Regions from separate parts of the Homo sapiens genome. Here region 2 is linked to region 1. Evidence: promoter capture Hi-C in 16 types of primary human blood cells and fetal thymus (Javierre and others, 2016). All regions are on one chromosome and are shown on one strand. The core of a region is centred on a gene start or on the middle of the fragment in contact, and the rest is flanking DNA. Distances in the headings are between cores, read along the strand shown. Region 1 holds the start of LRPPRC (leucine rich pentatricopeptide repeat containing). Region 2 overlaps MSH6 (mutS homolog 6).

Evidence for each region. Contacts are between HindIII fragments. The CHiCAGO score rates a contact against its expected background, and 5 or more counts as called.
Region 2: a contact is called between a fragment that was not itself captured here and the fragment with the promoter of LRPPRC in region 1, in 1 of 17 cell types (fetal thymus). The highest score is 5.2, in fetal thymus.

What each region holds. Positions count from the first base shown.
Region 1 is chr2:43,993,598-44,000,494 of GRCh38, forward strand. LRPPRC (leucine rich pentatricopeptide repeat containing) reads right to left here and starts at 2,392. Exons shown (of 38, transcript NM_133259.4): 1 at 2,202-2,392. The coding sequence starts at 2,350. RefSeq lists enhancers at 1,943-2,594, 2,390-2,669 and a silencer at 1,970-2,289. The HindIII fragment of the contact is 4,663 bases long and covers 1-2,571 here.
Region 2 is chr2:47,783,755-47,790,651 of GRCh38, forward strand. The region is part of intron 1 of MSH6 (mutS homolog 6); the gene reads left to right. Among named protein-coding and RNA genes, the nearest start is that of MSH6, 4.1 kb to the left of the region's middle. RefSeq lists a silencer at 84-173. The HindIII fragment of the contact is 1,423 bases long and covers 2,388-3,810 here.

The sequences.
Region 1 (6,897 bases), core at 1,142-3,641:
TGTCGGGTAGGAGACTATATACAGTGCTCAGAGTCCAGGAAAAAGAGGGAACAATCACTTCTTTATTGCCTGCTGTCACCTGAACACACAGTGGTGAACAAGACAAAGTCCTGCTCTCATATAGCTTACCTTCTACTAAAGAAAAAAAAAAAAACCAGAGAAATAAGTAATGATATCAGACAAGTGAGGTGTGCCACGAATAAATCTACAGTGGGACCGGCATGTTTTGGATTGAGTGTTGAGGTAAGGCTTCCCTGAAGAGACATTTGAGATCTGAATGATAAGAAAGCAACTTTACAAAGATAAGGGGGAAAGGCCTTTACAGATAATGAAACTGAGGAACAGACAGGTTAGTAAGATGGCTGAGATTACGCAGTAAGTAAACAGAACCCAGGTCTGATGAACACCGAGACCACCCTTTCTACTAAACTATGTTCTCTCTTTATTCAGTTCTCCTCAAATGCAACAGTGAAGATAAAAGAAAATGTGGACCTTCCCCTGGCCTCACAGAAATGCTGAGGATTAGAAAAATAAGAGTAATGGGCACAACTTTCTCAAAAGAAACTCTGAAAGCCAAGAGATGTATATAGTTCTGTGCTCAGAGGCATGATTTCGGAAAGTTAACTGTTCAAGCCCAATAAGAAAATATAGGCAGACTCCAAATTACAAGTACGCTCCATTCCAAAGATTATAACTAAGTTGTTAAGAAATCATAAATTATTTCCTCCACGTAATTTTATGGCGAGATTAGGTGTTCAGGCTGGTCCATGAAGGTCCGCATAACCGTAGATATTATGACTCCTGTAGTAACCAACAAAGCACTTACTAGGCATCAGGCCCTATACTAAGTGCTTAATACAGATAATTCTGCAATATTCCTAACACTACTACTACTCCCACCTTATAGCTAAGGAAGCTGAGGCCTGGAGATGTTAAGTAACTTCTCTAATGGCATAATGCAGATAATTTGAGGATAAAATGCAGATAAATCTGGAGTAGGCTGCAGTCTGGGCCCAGCCTACTGCAGATCCCTGGCTCTCAGTCCTTACGCGAGCTCTCAAAGTACCTTAATTTACAAGCATCAGTCTTTCAAAATCATTTTTTCTCCAATGCTAAAAGCTCAGCACCTATCTCCCCTTCTCTGGTGGTCAGAATACTATTAATAACCAAATGAACACTTTCACCAACTTTTCTTTTCCCCTCCACTACAAAAGTCTATACCAAACCTATCTCTGATAAACCTCAAACCATGAGAGCATTTATTCGCCTATCTGACACCCACTTAGAGTTTAACTTGCCTTTGCATCCCCAGATTCCAACAGAGTGCCTTGCATGTGCTCATTCATTCAAAGACACTTACAGGACGGGAGCGGTGGCTCACACCTGTAATCCCAGCACTTTGGGAGGCCGAGGCAGGAGGATCGCTTGAAGTCAGGAGTTCGAGACTAGCGTGGCCAACATGGTGAAACCCAGTCTCTACTAAAAGTACAAAAGTTAGCCTGGCATGGTGGCGCACACCTGTAATCCCAGCTACTCGGGAGGCTGAGGCAGGAGAATCGCTTGAACCCGGGAAGCGGAAGTTGCAGTGAGCTGAGATCGCGCCACTGCACTCCAGCCCAACTCGCGCAACACCTTCTTAAATGCTGAAGGAAAACTCCATTCAAGAGAACGCAGGCAAAAGCCCAAAGTGATCATAATCCAGCGTCCAGCTTTAAGTCATCCGTGGCTCACCCAAACTCCCAACCCACTCCTCGCCGCCCCATCCCTCGCAAAAAGCTAAATTTCCAATATCTAAATGCTAGGTGGTTACTGATCACCAACGGTGACCGCACGTGGGACACCACCCAAGCTGGCCAAGTGTAAGGAAAAGACCACCACCCGACTTCCCAAAGCAGTCTTCAAAGCCCCCCTCATCTTCGTTGACCATGGGTACCCCGAGGGCAGTAAGGTCCAGGCTGAAGTGGCGGGGGCAGGATTCAAGCCGGAGGCAGGCCATGCCCACAGCCGTGACCTTCTGAAGGCGCTTAACCCTGTCACCCGAAAACCCCTGGTAGGGAGCGTGGTGCGGAGCCCGGGGAGGCTAGGTCCTGGGGCGGGGAGAAGGGTGGCGAGCACAGGCAGGACCCGGTCCCTGCCGGCACCCACGACCCCGGGGGACCCTGGCGCCGCAGCTTGCCTGGAGAAAGGGCCTGGGCACTCACCCGGCCACGGGCCCGGCGCGAGCGGCGGGCAGATAGGAGGCGGCATGCAGCCGGCCCGGGCCGCCAGGGAGGAGGCGCAGGGAGAGCGGGAGGCGCGGGGCCGCCCCGGCACGCAGCAACCAACGCGCGGATCTCAGCAGGGCTGCCATTGCTCGAACGTCCCCGCAGCGGGAAGCACGCTCCGCCAGAAGGACAGGAGGAGCATGTGACCGCAGGGTAGCCTGGCGCGGCAGAGACCAACTGCCGGGCGTGCCAAATGTGGGGGGAGCGACGGATTGTTTTAGGTTGGAAGATGGAAAACCGCACTTCTCCGAGGACAGAAGACCCAATGTAATATTTACATAAACGATGTTGCTTGATTCATTATCGAAGCTTTTCTTTTCCGTCTTCCGTCTCCGATCTGGGCATCGTGTTCATTCGCTGCACCCCTGCACTCCTCTGTTGGTAGAGCCGCAAGAGGTCAACTCCTCCCAGGTTGGCGCAGAGGCTTGTGGGAGGCCAACTAGTAAAAATACCGAGAACTCTCGAGGAGAGCCGACTATGAAGATCCCAGGACGTGGGAAGGTTTCCCCCGCCCCCGAGTGCAGATGTTGCTGCTAACGTTCAGCCCTGACGCCATGTCCAATAGGAACGGCCCTTCACTCTCAGAAACGCGGGCCGGAGAAACCGTGGAGGTCTTTTGCACCTTGCCGTTTGCCTCCCAGGTTCAACATGATAGGATGTGGATTATCAGGGCCTGGGAACAGTGTAAAGGAACGCGCAGGTCCCCACCCTAAGCGCGTACGCGGGGCCTCGCTTTAGAAAATAAATGAATTCTACCAAAAATCCTATAGTTTTAAAGCTGGAATTGAACTGACTCTCTTCCCCAACCCTCCACCCCTACCGCGCCTCTCCCTTCAGTAAATGCACATATACATGTGAGAAGTAAAAGAACAATGTAATTAAGAGTCTCCAGCCAAATATGGGGAGAAAACTGGCAAGTTAAACCCATCGCTGGCGAAGTGGCTCACGCCTGTAATCCCATCACTTTGGAAGGCCGAGGCGGGTGGATCACCTGAGGTCAGGAGTTGGAGACCAGCCTGGCCAACATGGTGAAACCCCATCTGTACTAAAAATACAAAAAATTAGCCGGGCGTGGTGGCGGGCGCCTGTAATCTCAGCTACTCGGGAGGCTGAGGCAGGAGAATTGCTTGAACCCGAGAGGTGGAGGTTGCAGTGAGCCAAGATGGCGCCATTGCACTCCAGCCTGGGTGACACAGCGAGACTCTGTCTAAAACAAAACAAAAAAACCACGTCGCTGCCTTCACAGGGCTTACAGACTGGATCGGTTCCCTGTGCACACGTGGGAAGCTGAGAACAGCCTTCCACTCCCTCTACACCTGCCTGTCCCCTACCTATCACGAGGCAAACGCGGCGGGTATTTCCTCTGGAAGCCCTCCCACGGTCATTTCCGAAGTGACTGTTTATCCCACTGGACTCCTTATCAGTTAATCCCACGAACTCCTTATCAGTAGGGACTGTGATCTCTTATTGTAGGCCATACACCTACCCAGTGCCAGACACACAGTAGGTCTCATTAAATATGTGTTAAATTAATGTCTATTTTGAGATGACCTAGCTCACCTCTCCTTTGAGAGATGAGGGAACGAAGACACCCGCTCCAAGCCCCCAAAAGAAACAAGGTGAATTGATTGACTCTGGGTTATATTACTGAGCACTGGGAATACAAGTTATTCACCTATTCAACACGTATTTATTGAATACATATCCAGTGCCATACACTATTTGAAATCCTAGGAATACAGCAGAGAACAAAACAAACCAACCCTAGATTCTAATTAAGCTCTTTAAAGTTTAATTTGGGAAGACAAAAAGAACTGTGATGCAAAATACGCCAGGGTAAAGGGATTGAGGGTGTCATGGGGGGAGTTGCTTTTTTTTTTTTTTTCTCAAGACAGGGTCTTGCTCTGTCACCCAGGCTGGAGAGCAATGGCACGATCTTGGCTCACTGCAGCCTCGACGTCTGGGCTCAAGCGATCCTCCCACCTCAGCCTCCTGAGTAGCCGGGATTACAGGCCCAAGCCCTGGCTAATTTTTGTATTTTTAGTAGATACGGGTTTTTGCCGTGTTGCCCAGGCTGGTCTCAAACTCATGGCCTCAAGCAATCTGCCTGCCTCGTCTCCCAAAGTGCTGGGATTACAGACATGAGCCACGACGCCCGGAGAGTTGATATTTTAAATAGGAAAAACGTTGAACAGAAACCTGAAGGAAGGAAAGGAGGAAGCCAGGAGAATTTTCTGGAAGGAGAAAAAAAAAAAGAGTGGTTAAGGCTTAGAGAACAGCAAACACCAAAACCCAGAGGCAATAATAGGTGTAGCCTATTCAGAGAACTTTAAGGAGGAGGACTGTGTGGATGAGAGAAAAGAGCAGGGGGTAGAGAGCAGGGGGTAGGAGTAGAGGAAGGAGCAGGGGGTGGAGAGGGGCCTGGAGGTCAGAGAGGTAGTTGGAGGCCATATCAAACAGGGTGTTGTAGGTGGCCGTGAAGACTGACTTTTATTTAGACTGAAGACTTTTACTTAGAATGAGATGAGAAACCATTGGATAGTTTGGTGTGTTGCTTTTAAAGAGATGGAGTCTTGCTGTGTTGCCCAGGCTAGAGTGCAGTGTCTATTCACAGGTGCAATTATGACACACTACAGCCTTGAACTCCTGGGCTCAAGCAATCCTCCTACCCTGGCCTCCCAAGGAAGTGGGACTACAGGTGCATGCCACCACACCCTTTTGCTTTTTTTTTTTTTTTTTAAGTGCAGTGGCACAATCTAGGCTCACAGCAACCTCTGCCTCCCCGGGTCCACGCGATTCTCATGCCTTAGCCTCCCAAGTAGCTAAGATTACACGCATGAACCACCACACCCAGTTAATTTTGTATTTTTAGTAGAGATGGGGTTTCACCATTTTGGCTAAGCTGGTCTCTAACTCCTGGCCTCAAGTGATTTACCCACCTCAGCCTCCCTAAGTGCCGGGATTATAGGCGTGAGCCACGGCACCCAGCCACCCATTTGCATTTTGAAAGGGTCACTCTATCTGCTGTTTGGAAAGGAGATTTTAGGGGAATGGGGATAAATAAAAATAGACCAAAGAGAAGGCTAATCCAGAATAGAGATGCTAGTGGCTTGGATTAGAGGGCAGCAGGTGAAATGATGAGAAAGGGTCAGGTTCTTACTCTATTTAAATAGTAGAACCAAGGGGATTTACTGATGGATTGGCTGTGGATTGTAAGTCAAGAACGGCTCCAAAGGTTTTGGCCTAAACAACTAGAAAGATGGAGATGACTCTGATTTAAAAGGAGAAAACAAAGAGAAGCAGATTTAAAAAGTGAAATCAAAAATGATCTTCTAGAATATTAAGCTTGTGCCTGCTAGACATCCAAGCGTCAAATTTGAATAGGGGTTGGCTATATGACATACAAGTCAGTTCAGGGGAAAAGTCAGAGCTAAAGATACATTTGGGAATCTGCAGCTTGTACCTAATATTTGAAGCCACAGAAATAGATGAAAGCATCTAGGAAGAAAATGCAGATAGACAAGAGAGGGAGTCCAAGGACTGAGGCTTGTGTCATTTCAATCTTTAGAGGATGTATAGATGAAAATCTAGCAAAGGAAACTGAGAAAGAAGAGCCAGAGAGGCAGGAGAACTGAGCCCAGTGAGGTCACAAATACCTGAATGAAAGAAGTCCTTCCAGGAAGGAATTATCAATCACATACAATGCTACTGTTAGTTCCAATACAATGAGCATGCAACATTGACCATAGAATTTGTTGTTTGTTTGTTTGTTGAGAATGAGTCTTACTCTGTCGACCAGGCTGGAGTGCAGTGGCGTGATCTCAGCTCACTGCAACTTACGCCTCCTAGGTTCAAGCAATTCTCCTGCCTCAGCCTCCCAAGTAGCCGGAACTACAAACACGCACCACTATGCCTGGCTAATTTTTGTATTTTTAGCAGAGACAGGGTTTCACCATGTTGGCCAGTCTGGTCTCGAACTCCCGACCTCAGGTGATCTGCCCGCCTTGGCCTCCCAAATTGCTGGGATTACAGGCATGAGCCACCGCGCCCAGCCAATTATTGCTAATTTTCTAAGGCATGATAATGGCTTTGTGGTTACGTAAGAAAAAATATGTTTAGAGATGCATGTTGGCACTGGAATATGTAGAAGTAAATTAACATGATGTCTGGAATTGTCTTTTTTCTTTTTTTTTTTTTTTTTAATGAGGCGAAGTCTTGCTCTGTTGCCCAAGCTGGAGTGCAGTGGCGCCATCTCTGCTCACCGCAACCTCCGCCTCCCGGGTCCAAGCAATTCCCTGCCTCAGCCTCCCGAGTAGCTGGGATTATACGCACCCGCCACCATTCCTTCCAATTTTTGTATTTTAGTAGAGACGAGGTTTCACCATTTTGGCCAGGTCGGTTTTGAGCTCCTGACCTCGTGATCCACCCGCCTCGGCCTCCCAAAGTGCTGGGATTACAGGCGTTGAGTCACTGTGCCCAGCCTGGAATTGTCTTTAATATACTTCCCCAAAGAATAAAAGGCCGGGCACAGTGGCTCACACCTATAATCCCAGCACTCTGGGAGGTCGAGGCGGAAGGATCACTTGAGCTCGGGAGTTTGAGACCAGCTTGGTCAACATGGTGAAAACCTGTC
Region 2 (6,897 bases), core at 1,849-4,348, 3.8 Mb after region 1:
GAGGGAGGAGACGCGTCCCGCCAGGTGGGGGTGCTGGGCTAAGGAAGGGGCGACGCGCGCAGCTCCGGGTGGGGAGGGGGCCTGGGAGGTGGGAGCACTGGGGGTGGGGCGAGAAGGGGAAGGCGCCCGGCCCACTTGGTGGGCGGGGCGGGGGGCGGGGTGGCGGGAAGGAGGAATGCCTGCGGGAGGCCGAACGGGGAGAGTCCGGTGGTGTGGGGTGCGAAAGGAGGTTCCTCGGCCGGCGCGGAGATAGTGAGTTGGGGCTCCAGTAGTCGATCGAGGTAGACACTTAGAGGTAGTTAAGAGCCGCGGTCGCCGAGACGCCTTGGGGACGGTGGGCCTTCGGCCTAGGTGAGGGGCCGCCGAGGGGGTGGGCCACGAGCTGCGAGCGCGGGGGGGTGTGTCACCATGGGGACCGCGGGGCCTAATTGGGCGGGGCGGGGCCGTGGGGAGCCGAAGTGCTGGGATCCGGCTGGGTCCTTCGGTAGGTAGGCTGCACGTGCACCGAGACGAAGATAGAATATTTTGACGTATGTGGAAATTCGTGTCGAGTGGAAAATATTTTATTTTATGAAATAGTGTAATTTTTATGGGGCACCACTGGGCTTTTAGAGGCCTTAATCGGGCGCTGGACAAAGATGTGTGGACGTGAGTGACTCCGGGGAAGCCTGTCGGGAGTTGTCCTCACTTTATGGGCAGTTAAGTGCTTTTTTTTTTTTTTCCTTTTTGAGAGAGAGTTTCGCTCAAGTCCAGGCTGGAGTGCAATGGCGCGATCTCAGCTCACCGCAATCTCCGCGTCCCGGCTTCAAGCGATTCCCCAGCTTCAGCCTCCCGAGTAGTCGGGATTACAGGAATGCGCCCCCACACCCCGCCAATTTTGTATTTTTAGTAGAGACGGGGTTTCTCCATGTTGGTCAGGCTAGTCTCGGAATTCCCGACCTCAGGTGATCCACCCGCCTCGGCCTCAAAGTGCTGGGATTACAGGCGCTAGCCACCGCGCCCGGTCTGTTTAGGGCTTTTTATCCGGGCAGCTGGCGACATTTTGAAAAGCTTGCTTTTGCTGTTTGCCAGATACATATATATGTATTTTGAGACAGAGTCTTGCTCTTTTGTCCAGGCTAGAGTGCAGTGGCGCGTTCTTGGCTCACCACAACCTCTGTCTCTGGATCAAGAGATTATCCTGCCTCAGCCTCCCAAGTAGCTGGGACTACAGGTGCGCCCCACCACGCCTGGCTAATTTTTGTATTTTTAGTAGAGACGGGTTTCACTATGTTGGCCAGGCTGGTATCGAACTCCTGACCTCTTGATCGGCCCGCATTGGCCTACCAAAGTGCTGGGATTACAGGCATGAACCACCGAGCCCGGCCGTTTGTCAGATACTAAACACAAAGTTTAATGGTCGCTATTTGAACAAACGAAGAAATAAAGGCTCAGAAAAAATAACTCATTCAAGATAAGAGCCAGTTCGTGTTTTTTGTTTGGTTTTGTTTTGAAATGGAGTCTCGCTCTGTCGCCCAGGCTGGAGTGCTGTGGCGCTTTCTCGGCTCACTGCAACCTCTGCCCGCCGGGTTCAAGTGATTCTCCTGCCTCAGCTTCCCGAGTAGCTGGGATTACGGGTGTGCCCACCGCGGTCCGGCTGATTTTTCACCATGGAGTTTCACCATGTTGGCCAGGCTGGTCTTGAAACTGCTGACCTCAAGTGGTCCACCCACTTCAGCCTCCCAAAGTGCTGGGATTACAGGTGTGAGCCACCGTGCCCGGCCGCTAGTTAGTGGTTTTGAGTAATGGATTTCAAATCCATTTAAATCCAGTTTAAAGTGTCCTAAAGGAATTCTGAGATTTTTCTAAGTGTAATTATAGTGTTACCCTTGTTTAAGCGACCCTTTCCCGCAGTTTAAATATATATAGTTGTGCATTAGTAGAATATGCTTGTGGGGAACAGAGCCAGCATCCGCAATAACAAACTCCTGGTTAGAAAAGCATGACGTATTGTTTACTTGAGCATGAATTGATTGTTGAATCCAAACCAAACGGGTGTATTTATTGTAAGGATGTACTTTACATTCATATTGAATAGCGTATGTTATTTGTTTCTTGAGGTTGAGTTTAAGAGACTTGTAAAAATAAAACGTATACATTTCACCTCCCGTTATGGAGAGGATTCCAGGGTATTCAAGAAAGATGGGCATTTGATACTAGGTTTCTAAAGAAACTGCAGTGTCTAGATCACTCTGCCGAGCACAGCATTAGGCATTATGGATCCTGGATACAACCATGAACAGGACAAAGCAAAGAGGCAATTGTAGACTCCAAGTGGAAAGGGGACGGAGAGGATGCGGGTCAGGCTAGGCTCTCAGCTCTGTAAACCGAAACCAGAAGGACAAATAAGCTTAGACAGATTATAGTGAGAGTGGGAAGCTGGTTCAGGAAGAGGAAGGTCTGCAAATTGTGGGTAGGATGAAAGGAGGAGGAGGGAGCATTGGAGAAGTTAAGCAGAGATCCAATCATGAACAGTCTGATGAGCTACAGAGACATTCGGACTTACTCCATGAATCATTTAAGCCTTAAAACATGTTGAGCGTATTTTTTTTTTTTTTGAGACGGAATTTCACTCTTGTTGCCCAAGCTGGAGTGCAGTGGTGTGGTCTCAGCTCACTGCAACCTCCGCCTCCTGGGTTCCAGCGATTCTCCTGCCTCATCCTCTCAAGTACCTGGTATTACAGGTGCCTGCCACCACGCCCAGCTAATTTTTGTGTTTATAGTAGAGACGGGTTTCACCATGTTGGTCAGGCCAGTCGTGAACTCCTGACCTCAGGTGATCCACCCACCTCAGCCTCCCAAAGTGTTGGGATTACAGGCGTGAACCACCGCACCTGGCCGTGAGCCACCGTGTCTGTCCGAGCATCTTTTAATGTTTGTCATTTAGATTTCTTCTTGTGCTGAAGTGTTTGTCTTTTGCTGTTTCTTTTTTTTTTCCTAGTTCTTTGTCATTTGTGTGTGATATAAATGTCTTCTTTCACAATGAGTTCTTTCATTTAGTTTATGGCTTTGTTGTTGTTGTTGAATAATAGAGGTCTCACTTTGTTGCCCAGGCTGGTGTTGAACTCTTGCTCTCAAGCGATCCTCCCACTTCAGCCTCCCAACCTGTTGGGATTACAAGTGTGAGCCACCACACCCAGCCTTATGGCATCTTTCGATGAACAAATTATTGATTATAATGTGGAATTTGTCCTTTTATTTTCTCTGTGGTTAGTGTTTCTATAGGTTTTATTTAAGAAATCCACAGGGAGGCTGGGTGCAGTGGCTCATGCCTGTAAACCCAACACTTTGGGAGGCCAAGGCAGGCCAACATGGCTAGACCCTGTCTCTCCAAAAAATAAGAAAATTAGCCAGGCATGGTGGCGTGTGCCTGTAGTCCCAGCTTCTTGGGAGACTGAGATGGGAGGATCGCTTGAGTCCAGGAGGTTGAGGCTGCAGTAAGCCAAGAGATCATGCCATGCACTCCAGCCTGGGTGGCAGAGTCAGACCCTGTCTGCCAAAAAATAAAATAAAAGTTGGTGAAAATGTTGATTATATATTTTAGGAACAACTAGTAATTGACATCAAAATTATGGGCTAAAGAGAAAGCAAAAATAATGTGATTTTAAACCAGAATTCAAAAGATCTGTTTAGCGTATGTTTAGACAAAGCCATTACTTATTATATCAAAGTTTTAACATTTATTTTGTGAGCTGTCAGCTTTTCCTCTTAACATTTTTCCCCACCGTCTTAAAAAACCCCAAGAATACCGGACATTTAAGACTCACTTAAAGCTTTAAAAGCACTTGCAAAATCCTAAAATCATAATTTAAGGTGTTTTTGGAGGGCAGGAGCAATGGTGGCAGGCAGTGTTTTGCTTTGTTGCCCAGGCTGAAGTACAGTGGCAGATCTCGGTTCACTGCACCCTCGACCTATTCGGCTCAAGTGATCCTCCCACCTCAGCTTTCTGAGTAGCTGGGACCCCAAGTGCACACCACCCCATGCCTGGCTAATTTTTAAATTTTTTTGTAGAAACAAGGTCTCACTGTGTAGCCCAGATGGTCTCGAATTCCTGGGCTCTTAAGAGATCCTCCCAAAGTGCTGGGATCATAGGTGTGAGCCACCACACCTGGCCTATTTTGGCATTCTTGAAAACCGCAGGATTACCACGGATAAAATTTTAAAATTACCTTTAAAGAATTCAGGTTTACACACAAAAAAAATTTGGTTTGTTAGCAGTGAGTGAAGAAAAATTTTGAGAAATGTTTAAAATTTTTAGTTTTGTTACACAATACATTTTACTACCTGTTTAATTATCTTTTTTGACTCAGAAACCAGTTTCCTGGGTCCAGGATGTTTAGTGGTACTCTTTTTCTTCAAGCTTTTTAGCATTGGAGGAACTGCATATTAGTAAAATTTTTAGTCTTAGCATTTTATAGCTTACTGCTATTTCTTTTCTTTCATTCTTTCTTTCTTTTTTTTTTTTTTTTTTTTTTTTTTGAGATGGAGTCTCGCCCTGTCACCCAGGCTGGAGTGCAGTGGCACGATCTCGGCTTACTGCAACCTCTGCCTTCCAGGTTCAAATGATTCTCCTGCTTCAGCCTCCCGAGTAGCTGGGATTACAGATGCCCGCCACCATGCCCAGCTAATTTTTATTTTTTTAGTAGAGATGGGGTTTCACCATGTTGGCCAGGCCAGTCTCGAACTCCTGACCTCGTGATCAACCCGCCTTGGCCTTTCAAAGTGCTGGGATTACAGGCGTGAGCCACCGTGCCCAGCCTTTTTCTTTTTCTTTTTCTTTTTTTTTTTTTTTTTGAGACGGAGTCTTGCTCTGTTACCCAGGCTGGAGTGTAGTGGCATGATCTGGGCTCACTGCAACCTCCACCTCCCGGGTTCAAGGGAGTCTCCTGCTTCAGCCTCCCGAGTAGCTGGGATTACAGGCGCCTGCCACCATGCCCAGCTAATTTTTGTATTTTTTTAGTAGAGATGGGGTTTCGCCATGTTGGCCAGGCTGGTCTTGAACTCCTGACCTCAGGTGATCTGCCTGCCTCGTCCTCCCAAAATGCTGGGATTATAGGAGTGAGCCACTGCGCCCGGCCCAGCATACTGCTATTTCTTTCTTTCTTTCTTCTTCCTTTTTTTTTTTTTTGTTTTTTTTTTTTTTTTTTTTTTTTTGTGAGACGGAGTCTGTCGTCCAGGCTGGAATGCAGTGGCGTTTTCTTGGCTCACTGCAACCTCTGCTGCCCGGGTTCAAGTGATTCTCCTGCTTCAGGCTCCCAAGTAGCTGGGATTATAGGCCTCTGCCACTGCACTTGGCTAATTTTTGTATTTTTGGTAGAGACGGGGTTTCACCATCTTGGCCAGGCTGGTCTTGAACTCCTGACCTCGTGATCCACCTGCCTTGGCCTCCCAAAGTGCTGGGATTACAGACCTGAGCCACCGCACCCGGCCCATACTGCTATTTCTTAACAGCAGAGAAATTATGTGTCAGATTCTGTAAGTGTAATGGTATATAAAGGATAAAATGATGTTGAAAAACAAAATTTTTTGTTTAAATGCTTATGTTTCTAATATTTTATTTCAGAAAGGAATTTATTTCAAAACTGATAATGGTTGGATCCAGCTTTTCACACAAACTTTTTTTTCCTAGTGAGGATGCACATTTATCCTGTAAACAAATGGAAGACATTATTTTTTTAATTGCTTGCTTAGAAATGAAATAATTCTTTTCTAATGATCTTTTAAAGCATGAGACCTCATACATCATTTAAAACAATTTATACTGTATTTTACACATGACAAAGTTCTAAGGTAACAGCCCTTTTCTAAGACTAAAGTTACAGTCCTCCCTTTGTATCTGAGGGGGATTGGTTGCAGGACCCCCCTGTGAATACCCAAATCCTTGGATGTCCAAGTCCCTTATGAGATGTAGTATTTGCATATAACCTATACACATCTTCCCCTGTACTTTATCTCTAGATTACGTACAATACCTAATAGAATGTAAATGCTTTGAAATTAGTTGTTCAGCTGTATTTTAAATTTTGTATTTTTTTTCCTTTTTTTTTGAGACAGAGTCTTGCTCTGTTGCCCAGGCTGGAGTACAGTACAGTGATCACAGCTCACTGCACCTTTAACCTCCCAGGCTCAAGCTGTCCTGCCTCGGCCTCCCCAAGTGTTGGGATTACAGGTGTGAGCCATCATACCTGGTCACTGTTTTTTATTGGTTTTAAATTTTTGATTTAAAATTTTTAATCTAGGTTGGTTGAATCTGGACTGGAACCCAAGGATATGTTTGTTGAGCATACTGTATTTACTTTGGAATACAACTAGAATGCTTAACTTGTATGTTAAAAATACTTTATTTGGCCAGGCGCGGTGGCTCACGCCTGTAATCCCAGCACTTTGAGAGGCCAAGGCGGGTGAATCATTTGAGGTCAGGAGTTTAAGACGAGCCTGGCCAACATGGCAAAACCCTGACTCTACAAAAAAAAGGTAAAAATAAGCCAGGTGTGATGGCGTGTGCCTGTAGTCTTGGCTATTCAGGAGGCTGAGACACAAGAATCGCTTGAACCGGGGAGGCACGTTACGCCCTCAGTTGTTGACTTGAGTTTTTCCGTAGTTTGTAGGGGGAGGGTAATAGAGTATTAGGTAGCTTTTGGAATACATAGGAGTGTAACTGGAAAAAGATTCCAAGCAAGTCTAATGAATTAGATAATTTACCTAATTAGTAAATTATGTAATCAGTATGCTTTATAATAATATTGTGAGTTAGATCCTGTTTCTGATATGTACATACCATATTGTATAGGTGCTACTAATTTGGAGAGCATATACAGTGAGTCCATGCCTTTTTCCTGCCATCAGCATTATACCAAA